2 separate regions of the Homo sapiens genome follow, and region 2 is linked to region 1. Evidence: promoter capture Hi-C in 16 types of primary human blood cells and fetal thymus (Javierre and others, 2016). All regions are on one chromosome and are shown on one strand. Each heading gives the region's core, a stretch centred on a gene start or on the middle of the fragment in contact. The rest is flanking DNA. Distances are from core to core; before and after follow the strand shown. Region 1 holds the start of PCDHAC2 (protocadherin alpha subfamily C, 2). Region 2 holds the start of PCDHA9 (protocadherin alpha 9).

What was found. The method cuts DNA at HindIII sites, captures the fragments that hold promoters and counts their contacts. A CHiCAGO score of 5 or more calls a contact.
Region 2: the fragment with the promoter of PCDHA9 here is called in contact with the fragment with the promoter of PCDHAC2 in region 1 in 1 of 17 cell types (neutrophils); the score reaches 7.2 in neutrophils.

The regions. Positions count from the first base shown.
Region 1 is chr5:140,963,371-140,969,170 of GRCh38, forward strand. It overlaps PCDHAC2 (protocadherin alpha subfamily C, 2), which reads left to right and starts at 3,106. Exons shown (of 4, transcript NM_018899.6): 1 at 3,106-5,800. The coding sequence starts at 3,397. The region is part of intron 1 of PCDHA1 (protocadherin alpha 1); the gene reads left to right. All of the region lies in intron 1 of PCDHA2 (protocadherin alpha 2), which reads left to right. All of the region lies in intron 1 of PCDHA3 (protocadherin alpha 3), which reads left to right. It also overlaps PCDHA4, PCDHA5, PCDHA6, PCDHA7, PCDHA8 and PCDHA9, and 6 more genes. The HindIII fragment of the contact is 2,470 bases long and covers 2,328-4,797 here.
Region 2 is chr5:140,844,918-140,850,717 of GRCh38, forward strand. PCDHA9 (protocadherin alpha 9) reads left to right here and starts at 3,465. Exons shown (of 4, transcript NM_031857.2): 1 at 3,465-5,800. The coding sequence starts at 3,579. All of the region lies in intron 1 of PCDHA1 (protocadherin alpha 1), which reads left to right. The region is part of intron 1 of PCDHA2 (protocadherin alpha 2); the gene reads left to right. The region is part of intron 1 of PCDHA3 (protocadherin alpha 3); the gene reads left to right. It also overlaps PCDHA4, PCDHA5, PCDHA6, PCDHA7, PCDHA8 and PCDHA@. The HindIII fragment of the contact is 21,410 bases long and covers 2,747-5,800 here.

The sequences.
Region 1 (5,800 bases), core at 1,856-4,355:
AGCACCTCTGTGCCAAGCTCCCTACTGGATGCTGTAGATTACAGCATGTTTAGGAACTAACTTCATACTCTGTTGCTAAAGTATTTCTGTGTTTTCTAAAAAGGTAAATCTCTTGTGAGGAAACAAATCTCTTGAAGGGGTTCTCATAACAGAAGTCCCATTTACTTCATGATATAAAAAGGGGCTGTTTTCTGGTTTTGTTCTCAAAATGTAGGATATAGTTCTAGACGTAATTGGGAAAGCTTAACTTTGTTGCATACGCATCTTCCCTATCATGGTTGATTTCCTATATGGCATAGTTAAATGTGTTTATCCGTGTTTGATATCTAAAGGGCCATGCTACATATAGACTGCCAACTAAGGTTTTATCTGATGATAATAAATTGTTGTATTTCATGACGACAGCAACAACAACAATAATGTACTTAACTAGTCACTGTGCAAATTGCTTTACATACATTTTCTCATGTAATCATAATAATAACCGTATGAGTTTTGCTTACTATTGTTTTCCTTAATTAAAATGAGTAAAGTGAAGCTTAGGCTAAGTAACATGTCCATAGCCAAACAGTTAGTCACTGGCAGGAGTGTGACTGACTCCAAAGTCTATATTCCTAATTACTGTGTTCTACTTTTTAATAGAGAGCTCTTGAAGGTCCAAGGAAAGGAATGCATAATGGTGTGGTCAAGGCATTAGTGTTAATATTTGTAGAAAGGGTAATTAACAACAGTCTGAGCAATCACATTCTAACAACTAGTAAGGTTGGCAGGAGCCTCAGTATAATGGTGTGAGGAACGAAATCATTATAGTGCCAAATAGAGTATACCATCTCTTTAGTACAATGTCTTTCAAAATGAGGCTGATTGTGTTGGCTTTATATTTGACTCCTTAATAATTAAGGCAGTAAATTCTAGCTGGAGCTAAATACCTACAAGGCCTAAAACAGCATAATGGACAACCTGGCAGGTGTCCTTGCTGGAAGATGACAAGAGTGCTGAAAGGAGAGTCCTGGTTTTTCTCCCAAGACATGACATTTGGGGGCTTCCATTAAAAAATTACCAAGCCTCTGCCACTGTAATCTCTTCCTTAAGTGCCTATGATTTTTTCACAGTCACAGGTCTATGCCTGGTCAATACCCAGTGGCCAGGTCTCTGAGCTGCGTGCAGAGATGGCAGCGACTTGGAGGGCTGGGAGGAGATAAGGGGAGGAAAGATCACTTTTCATGACAACTTACAACTTGATTCCACTTATAAGCCATTTATTTTCAGAAACAAGTAATGGGTGAGGACACAGGCCAGGTCCACAATTTGTGCACTTGAGAGATTAAGGCCTCCGAGATCAAATTACCACAGCAAACTGAGACAGAATTATTGTAGGGATGTTTGGGGAGGATGCAGAGAGAAGAGGAAGAAGCCAGAGACCCAAGAAAGGAGACAGGAATAGATTTTGATGAAAATTGCTTCCTACTCTGTACCCTTGAGGAAACAAAGAGGACAAATAAGAAGCAGCAGTGATAGGAGGCTGGGCGCTTCTCTGGAATAACACTGGCTAGGTAGTGGAGCATTGATAGTGAGTGTGCTTGGTTGGTGGAACGAAGGGATGTGCTAGTTCAGGCCTTTGAATTCTGGGTGTCAGGATCACAACCTTGGCTCCTTTAACTGTCCGCTCTAGGAGGGAAGCATGCCAAATGTCAGGTCTCACTCTGACTTTGTTCCAGTCCATAGCTAGAAAATGACCCATAGAGGAAGATCTACAGATGACAGAATACTGGGAGATGAAGAGAAAGGACGTTTTAGTGAGTGCTTTTTTTGCACATGAGGCAATAGATTTCAAATTCCTGTGGAAGAAATGTGAGAACCTGGGAAGAGTGAATATTCAGAACTGAGCAGCAGAGGCAATGACACAGCATGGAAAGATTTCCTCTGATCCTTCTACCTTCTCTTTTACTGAAGTGAATTTGTTGTCTCTGTGTTGCCTCTATAGCAGTACAAGAGGAAACTTGGGGACACAGAAGAACAGAAGTCTAAGGAGTCTTATATTTAAGGAAGATAAGCTGCAGTCATTGAAATTGCTGGTTATTGTAAGATAAATCCCAGACTCCCACATTTTGCTTAATGACAGCAGATTTTTTTTTTTTTTTAACTGCAAAGCATTAATGGAATCCAAATTCCAGCCTGGCTTAGGAGATCAACAGTAACGCTCTTGATTTAATGGTTTTGCAGACTCTTGAAGACATTGTCATCCATTAAAGAAAAAATTTTAAATTACTCTTGAAAGAAAATGTCTTGGGTGATAAATGTAAAAGATTTGAAGCAAGATTAGAAAAAGCTTGAGAGAAGAATCTCTTTAAAAATTTTACCAGATTTTCCCCATTGTCGCCAAAATGGGTCAAATAATAGATTTGCCTACAGCTTCATGGAGACTATTTTTTTAAACAGAGCATTTTAAACATTTAAATATTGGTTATTTGCCAAGGCACACACTGAAAATAAGGGCCACTTGGCCGAGAGCAGAATTGAGTCTTGGATCCCAGGATGCTGGTTTTAGGCTTGCTCCCGGAAAGAGGGCAGCATTTGCCATCCCCCTCCTTTTGCCCTAGGAGTTGAGCACTTTCTGCAGTACTTAAGAGTGTCCAGGGAAGATGTGGGAGTCAGGTGAATAGTTCCCATCGCCAGTAACCCCAGAGCGCCTCCCCCTGCGTTGTTTCCTTTTAATGTTAGATCCGCCGCCTGGGTGCCCATACTTAGCTAAGGCCCCTCAGTTTATTTTCCTGAATTGCGCTTGGAGATCTTTTCCTGGGGAGCTGATAGCCAGACTTCTAGGGGCTTGACTGCTTTTCCCAGACTAATCTCCTTAAAGACCCGTTAAGCAGGGGAGAGACGGTGGAGACTGGATGAACTGGACAGTGGGGGTAGGGAGAAAGGGAGTGGCCGTGTTCCTGCGGTCCGCTGGGATCCGGCAGGTCCAGGGTGAAGGAGATGGGGCTGGAGAGGCTGAGCAGTCCGGGTTCGCTGTCCGCCACTTCGGCGCGGAATCAGAGCAGGACTTGCTGAGCCCTCCTACCGCTCCCTTTCCCCCTCCCCCTCTGTCTTCCCTTCTGTTTCCTTTTCCCTCCCCCTGGAGCTGTAGCGGCAGCAGCAGCAGGAAGCCGAGCCGGGTTGAGCGACTCGGAGGCGAGCGGAGGAGCTGGAATATGGGGAGTCAGCGAGGACGGTGGGGCCAGGAGCCCTTGGGAGGGCCTACGGAGGGAGCGGCCCCAGGCGCTTTCTAGAGCGTGAGCGGTGGGGGAGCAGGCGCAGGGTGGCACGAGCGGAGGCGGGGCCCGGGCGTGGGGCACGGCTGGGGAAGCTGCCGCCTCCGGCCCTGCCCGGCTGCCTCCGCCGCGGCCAGTGGCTATGGAGCAGGCGGGCACCAGACCTGCGGCGACAGAGCATCCACGGCTCCGGCGGCCCATGCCCTGGCTGCTGCTACTGCCTCTCCTGCTGCTGTTGCTGCTGCTGCTACCTGGCCCTGCGGCCTCCCAGCTGCGATACTCTGTGCCAGAGGAGCAGGCACCCGGCGCGCTCGTGGGCAACGTGGCTCGCGCGCTGGGGCTTGAGCTGCGGCGCTTGGGGCCGGGTTGCTTGCGCATCAACCATCTGGGTGCGCCCAGTCCGCGCTACCTGGAGCTGGACCTGACGAGTGGAGCGCTCTTCGTCAACGAGCGCATTGATCGGGAGGCGCTGTGTGAGCAGCGGCCTCGCTGCCTGCTCAGCTTGGAAGTGCTGGCGCACAACCCCGTGGCGGTGAGCGCCGTTGAGGTGGAAATATTGGACATCAACGACAACTCACCGCGTTTCCCGCGGCCCAACTACCAGCTTCAGGTAAGCGAATCGGTGGCGCCTGGAGCGCGCTTTCACATAGAGAGTGCGCAGGACCCCGACGTGGGCGCCAACTCAGTACAGACCTACGAGCTCAGCCCCAGCGAGCACTTCGAGCTGGACCTTAAGCCCCTGCAGGAGAACAGTAAAGTGCTTGAGCTGGTGCTGCGTAAGGGCCTAGACCGGGAGCAGGCAGCCTTGCACCACCTGGTTCTCACAGCCGTGGATGGGGGCATCCCAGCCCGCTCGGGTACGGCACAGATCTCTGTGCGTGTCCTGGACACTAACGACAACTCTCCTGCCTTTGACCAGTCCACTTATCGCGTCCAGCTACGGGAGGACTCACCCCCAGGCACATTGGTGGTGAAGCTGAATGCCTCAGACCCGGATGAGGGCTCCAATGGTGAGCTCAGGTACTCCTTGAGCAGCTACACGTCGGACCGGGAGAGGCAGCTCTTCAGCATAGATGCCAGTACCGGGGAAGTGCGAGTAATTGGGGGGCTGGATTATGAGGAAGCCTCCTCCTACCAGATCTATGTGCAGGCGACTGACCGGGGTCCAGTGCCCATGGCAGGTCACTGCAAGGTGCTGGTGGACATCGTGGACGTGAATGACAATGCCCCAGAGGTGGTGCTCACGGACCTGTATAGCCCAGTGCCTGAGAATGCTACACCCAACACCATTGTGGCCGTTCTCAGTGTCAATGACCAAGACTCAGGCCCCAACCGGAAAGTGAGCCTGGGTCTGGAGGCCACACTGCCTTTCCGACTGAATGGCTTTGGAAACTCCTATACACTGGTGGTGAGCGGCCCACTGGACCGAGAGCGGGTGGCTGTCTACAACATCACGGTGACAGCCACAGATGGGGGAATACCGCAGCTCACATCCCTGCGTACACTGAAGGTTGAGATCTCTGACATCAATGACAATCCACCAAGCTTCCTGGAGGACTCCTATTCCATCTACATACAGGAGAACAATTTGCCAGGTGTGTTGCTCTGTACTGTGCAAGCCACAGACCCAGATGAAAAGGAGAATGCAGAGGTGACCTACTCCCTTCTGGAGAGGGAGATTCAAGGGCTGCCAGTCACCTCCTATGTCTCCATTAACAGTGCCAGTGGCAGCCTTTATGCTGTCAACTCCTTTGACTATGAGAAGTTTCGGGAGTTCTTTGTGACTGTGGAGGCTCAGGACAAGGGGAGCCCACCACTGAGCAGCACTGTGACTGCCAACGTATATGTGGTGGACATGAATGACCATGCCCCTCACATTCTGTACCCTACCTCAACCAACTCGTCAGCAGCCTTCGAGATGGTGCCTCGAACTGCCCCTGCTGGCTACCTGGTCACCAAAGTCATAGCTATGGACTCAGACTCTGGGCAAAATGCTTGGCTTTTTTACCATCTAGCCCAGACTTCTGACCTGGACCTCTTTAAGGTAGAGCTGCACACAGGAGAAATTAGGACTACCAGGAAGATGGGAGATGAGAGTGGTAGCACTTTCAACCTGACCGTGGTGGTCCGAGATAATGGAGAGCCATCACTATCAGCCTCTGTGGCCATTACAGTAGCTGTGGTGGATAGGGTTTCCAAAATCCTCCCTGACACTCAGAGGCATGTTAAGAGCCCTCGGACATACTCTGAAATTACCCTTTATCTAATAATAGCATTAAGCACAGTGTCTTTTATATTTCTTTTGACAATCATCATTTTGAGCATCATCAAGTGCTACCGCTACACTGCGTATGGCACTGCATGCTGTGGAGGCTTCTGTGGAGTAAGGGAAAGGTCCCCTGCAGAACTGTACAAACAAGCCAACAACAATATTGATGCCAGGATACCGCATGGCCTCAAAGTGCAGCCTCACTTCATTGAAGTTCGAGGGAATGGCTCCCTCACCAAGACCTACTGCTACAAGGCCTGTCTGACAGCAGGCTCAG
Region 2 (5,800 bases), core at 2,215-4,714, 120 kb before region 1:
ATGGAAGGGAATGAACGATTTCTGGGACTCTGAATTCTTACAGTTTGTTATTAGTATTGTTTTAAATCTTTTAATCACTTATGAACAAATAATGTAATCATTTATGGGCATATTTTAGCCCCCTTGTCCAACTGAAGGTAACCTCAAAGCAGCATTGTTTTGTAGTTTATTTTACAGTTCTCTTAATGCCTGTCCATGTTTAGCATTTTATTTGACTATTTGAACACATTGTGTAAAAGCGAATTGTTTTCATTTTAGTCCTTTAAAAAATATGATTGTTTTCATTTAAGTCCTTTTAAAAAATATGATTATCTTTATTATCCTGTTTGAATAATATGTGTTTTCCTTTGTGAAAGTAATATTTCCTATCCTGTCTATGTCTACCTGGTTCTCAGGTATTACTTTAATTACTGAATTCTCCTAAACATTTAATTGACTTTTACAAAATATCATAAATAGGAGGATTCTTTCCACCACCTAGCATTGTATTTGGCAATTTATCATTTAAGTCATTTTAGTTCTGTTTTTCTTCAACTCTCTGATATTTGAATTTGGGGTTGTGCTTTCACAGTGAGAAAGTCTAAACCTATTTCTTGTACATTAATACTTTTCACTATTCTAATTATGGTGATGCTTTTAGCTATTAAGAATTTCTGGGATTGAAATGTGTCAGAAGTTAGTTATTAAGTATTGTGGATTCTGAAGCTCTCTAAATCAAGTCCTCCCTTTACCAATTTTTGTATGTGTAGCCATTGGTAAAGGATTTGTTATTCAGTTCCTTGGCATTATATGTATGCATGATAAATGTGAATTCTACTTTATAGATTTATTTGTATCAAGTAAGTTAATAGTTATAAATTATTAATAATAAACTCTGGCAAGTGATAGGTACATAATAAAATTTAGTTATTACCATTCTTAAGAGAAAAGAAGTTAGTGATTGCAGAAAGGCAACCTAAAATGTCAGAAAGTCGTTATGGCCTTCCATATTAATCTTATTTTTGTGTAAAACTATCTTCTGTAAAGTCATTTTTTAGATTAACCTAGGATGTTTCAATATTTTGAATGTTGTGTGGTGGAATGAAAAAAATCTAAAAGTTATTACGAGTTTAGGAAAGTCAAGTTAACACCACCTATGTGGGAAAACAGTTTTTTGGAAAGGTTAAAGTCCTTCCAAGGAATGTGTAGACTATCTTACTTTGATAGTTGTATGTTTCCCATATTTAAAAGTTGCCTGAGATCCTGCAGAGGCCTGAGTAGGCGTTTGAGTTCTTTGTATGTATGAGATCTTTCCATTAATAGTATTTTTCTTAAAAAGAAGTATACAATAATGTTTTGATGATGATTTAAAGTCAATTTATGTTGTAGTTCTATGAATTAAGTAAACCATTTATGTAGAGTGTTGTAAATAGCCTTTTAAAGTGCTTTCTCTTTTTTCTTTTCTTTTCTTTCTTTCTTTTTTTTTTTTTTTTTTTGAGACGGAGTCTCGCTCTATCTCCCAGGCTGGAATGCAGTGGCGCAATCTCGGCTCACTGCAACCTCTGCCTCCCGGGTTCAAATGATTCTCCTTCCTCAGCCTCCCAAGTAGCTGGGATTACAGGTGCATGCCACCATGCCCTGCTAATTTTTTGTATTTTTAGTAGAGTCGGGGTTTCACCATGTTAGCCAGGATGGTCTCGATCTCCTGACCTCCTGATCCGCCCACTTCGGCCTCCTAAAGTGCTGGGATTACAGGCATGAGCCACCGCGCCCAGCCTAAAATGCTTTCTTAGCAAGTAGAGAAGATTGTAATAACCAGTCTTCATTAAACATTAAATAGGACCCTTACAGATCTCTAACAGCATATCATCATGTCAGGAATTATTACTGAGCCCCAGCCCCTGGCTTTAAAATTTGAGGTCAAATAAAGAATATGAGTCACACAATGCAAGGCAAGATAATGTAACAGGTACAAGAGGTAAATCAGAATGACGTTGAAGTTGAAAGACAATCATTTCCTATTTGAATTTTTGAAGAAATACTTGAAGGGGCATGGTGTGTTTCAGTGGTTTTAAAATAAGTAAGTTCCCCCCGGGAGAATATTGAGAATGATAGACATTTCTTGGAAAGAGAAAACATAAGGAAAGTTGAAGACACAGAAAGCATCAATATGACAAGTAGAAAAGTCCACTTTGGTTAAAACACACAGTCTGCAGAGAATGAAAGCAGGAAAACCAATGTAAGAAGATCTCTTGATTTCTGAGTAATAAACTAAAGGGCCATGAGTGATTAAGGAATTTGGCCACTCTTTAGAATTAATTGGGAGCTATTTAACTACCTTGAGCAAAATAAATCACGACTTTTGAAAGAAGGTTGAACGGGAAGACAAACTCAGAAGCTCCTGCAGTAATCAAGGACAGAAGCAATTGTTAAATGCACCTCTTAGGCTGTTATCAGTAGAAATACGAAATAAAAGATAAATATGCAAAAACATTAATGGCACAATAAACACTCACGGTTTTGCCTTTAGACTTGAGATACACTAAAATCTAGATTTAATTAATCGACTTGGACGTTGGAATAAGATAGTAAAACTCACAACAAAACTTTGTAGAACTTAGTCAGGAAAAGAATCTCAAGCATAGCTTTAAAAACAGAAATTGCCCCGAGTACTAAGGATGAGCAATAATGAAATTAAAACATATTGTAATAACATTACACAAACTATATTGGAGACTACAAAGAAGAGATTATTCATAGATTATAAAGCTTGGAAAGAATCAAAACAACACATTTCTGGAAACAGATTGTATAAATGCTACAAAAGAGAAAAATATATTTTCTCCCCACGCAACACAAGACCTTAAAGTCAATTCTCGCTTTTCTTGCAATATTTTATACCTTTTCAATTCATAGAATTACTCAAGAAAACTACCTCAGTTGGTTGCTACTTTTTGTTGATTCCTTTTACCAGACATGACTAAGTTTCTTTTTCATCAGTAGATTTCTGGGCTCCTATATTCACTAGAGATTGCAACTCCTGGATTTCTCTTACACTAGAATCCTATTTCGAGCCATATGGGAGATTCTGAATTCCAGAACAAAAGAATTTTGTAATTTAAAATTCGTGATTGCTCAATGGAATCATTTTAATTGTTACTTCATTTCTGTCGTTATTTAAAACTTAAGTGGAGAGTTTTCTCAGGGATAAGAAAACCACAATCAAGGTCATACAAAACTTTTAGAGGCAGTCAGTCTGCTAAGAAGGCTCCAGCAAGAGAAACGGGATCTTCTGTTTCAACAATCATTACTTAAGAAAAAATTAAGAAAATGAAATAAGTTTTGCAGAATAACTGTGAAATTTTTATTCATGAAATATGTACTTACACTTTGGGCCACGTGATGTCACTCTTTGCCGCGATGTTCTCTCTGAATCCAGACAAATACAGCCCTTTTCCCATGGGAAAGAGGCTCAATTCTTTTTCACTCTCTCTGTGCTGAACGATGGCGAACACAGCAGAATGGGACTGACGAAATCAGATGATTTCTTCTAATTTGGAGGCAATTTTCACTAATTAGAAGAAGACTGAGTATTTGAAATGTTATACTCAAGTCGAGGAGATCCAGAGGGTCAGCCTCTACTGCTCTCGCTTCTGATCCTCGCAATGTGGGTGGTGGGGAGCGGCCAGCTCCACTACTCCGTCCCGGAGGAAGCCGAACACGGCACCTTCGTGGGCCGCATCGCGCAGGACCTGGGGCTGGAGCTGGCGGAGCTGGTGCCGCGCCTGTTCCAGTTGGATTCCAAAGGCCGCGGGGACCTTCTGGAGGTAAATCTGCAGAATGGCATTTTGTTTGTGAATTCTCGGATCGACCGCGAGGAGCTGTGCGGGCGGAGCGCGGAGTGCAGCATCCACCTGGAGGTGATCGTAGACAGGCCGCTGCAGGTTTTCCATGTGGACGTGGAGGTGAAGGACATTAACGACAACCCTCCAGTGTTCCCAGCGACACAAAAGAATCTGTTCATCGCGGAATCCAGGCCGCTTGACTCTCGGTTTCCACTAGAGGGCGCGTCCGATGCAGATATCGGGGAGAACGCCCTGCTCACTTACAGACTGAGCCCCAATGAGTATTTCTTCCTGGACGTGCCAACCAGCAACCAGCAGGTAAAACCTCTTGGACTTGTATTACGGAAACTTTTAGACAGAGAAGAAACTCCGGAGCTTCATTTATTGCTCACGGCCACCGATGGAGGCAAACCCGAGCTGACTGGCACCGTTCAATTACTCATCACGGTACTGGACAACAATGACAATGCCCCAGTGTTCGACAGAACCCTGTATACGGTGAAATTACCAGAAAACGTTTCTATCGGAACGCTGGTGATTCACCCCAATGCCTCAGATTTAGACGAAGGCTTGAATGGGGATATTATTTACTCCTTCTCCAGTGATGTTTCTCCAGATATAAAATCCAAGTTCCACATGGACCCCTTAAGTGGGGCAATCACAGTGATAGGACATATGGATTTTGAAGAAAGTAGAGCACACAAGATCCCAGTCGAGGCTGTCGATAAAGGCTTCCCACCCCTGGCTGGTCATTGTACACTTCTTGTGGAAGTTGTGGATGTAAATGACAATGCTCCACAGTTGACTATCAAAACGCTCTCGGTTCCTGTAAAAGAGGACGCACAACTGGGGACAGTTATTGCCCTGATTAGTGTGATCGACCTAGACGCAGATGCCAACGGGCAGGTTACCTGCTCCCTGACGCCCCACGTCCCCTTCAAGCTGGTGTCCACCTACAAGAATTACTACTCGTTGGTGCTGGACAGAGCTCTGGACCGCGAGAGTGTGTCCGCCTACGAGCTGGTGGTTACCGCGCGGGACGGGGGCTCGCCTTCACTGTGGGCCACGGCCAGGGTGTCTGTGGAGGTGGCCGACGTGAACGACAACGCACCAGCGTTCGCGCAGTCCGAGTACACGGTGTTCGTGAAGGAGAACAACCCGCCGGGCTGCCACATCTTCACGGTGTCTGCGCGGGACGCTGACGCGCAGGAGAACGCCCTGGTGTCCTACTCGCTGGTGGAGCGGCGGTTGGGCGAGCGCTCGCTGTCGAGCTACGTGTCAGTGCACGCGGAGAGCGGCAAGGTGTACGCGCTGCAGCCGTTGGACCACGAGGAGCTGGAGCTGCTACAGTTCCAGGTGAGCGCGCGCGACGCGGGCGTGCCGCCTCTGGGCAGCAACGTGACGCTGCAGGTGTTCGTGCTGGACGAGAACGACAATGCGCCGGCGCTGCTGACACCTCGGATGAGGGGCACTGACGGCGCAGTGAGCGAGATGGTGCTGCGGTCGGTGGGCGCCGGCGTAGTGGTGGGGAAGGTGCGCGCAGTGGACGCCGACTCGGGCTACAACGCGTGGCTTTCATACGAGCTGCAGCCAGAAACGGCCAGCGCGAGCATCCCGTTCCGCGTGGGGCTGTACACGGGCGAGATCAGCACAACGCGTGCCCTGGACGAAACGGACGCACCGCGCCAGCGCCTACTGGTGCTGGTGAAAGACCACGGGGAGCCAGCGCTGACGGCCACGGCCACTGTGCTGGTGTCGCTGGTGGAGAGCGGCCAGGCGCCAAAGTCATCGTCGCGGGCGTCAGTGGGTGCCACGGGCCCCGAGGTGACGCTGGTGGATGTCAACGTGTACCTGATCATCGCCATCTGCGCGGTGTCTAGCCTGTTGGTTCTCACGCTGCTGCTGTACACTGTGCTGCGGTGCTCGGCGATGCCCACCGAGGGCGAGTGCGCGCCTGGCAAGCCGACGCTGGTGTG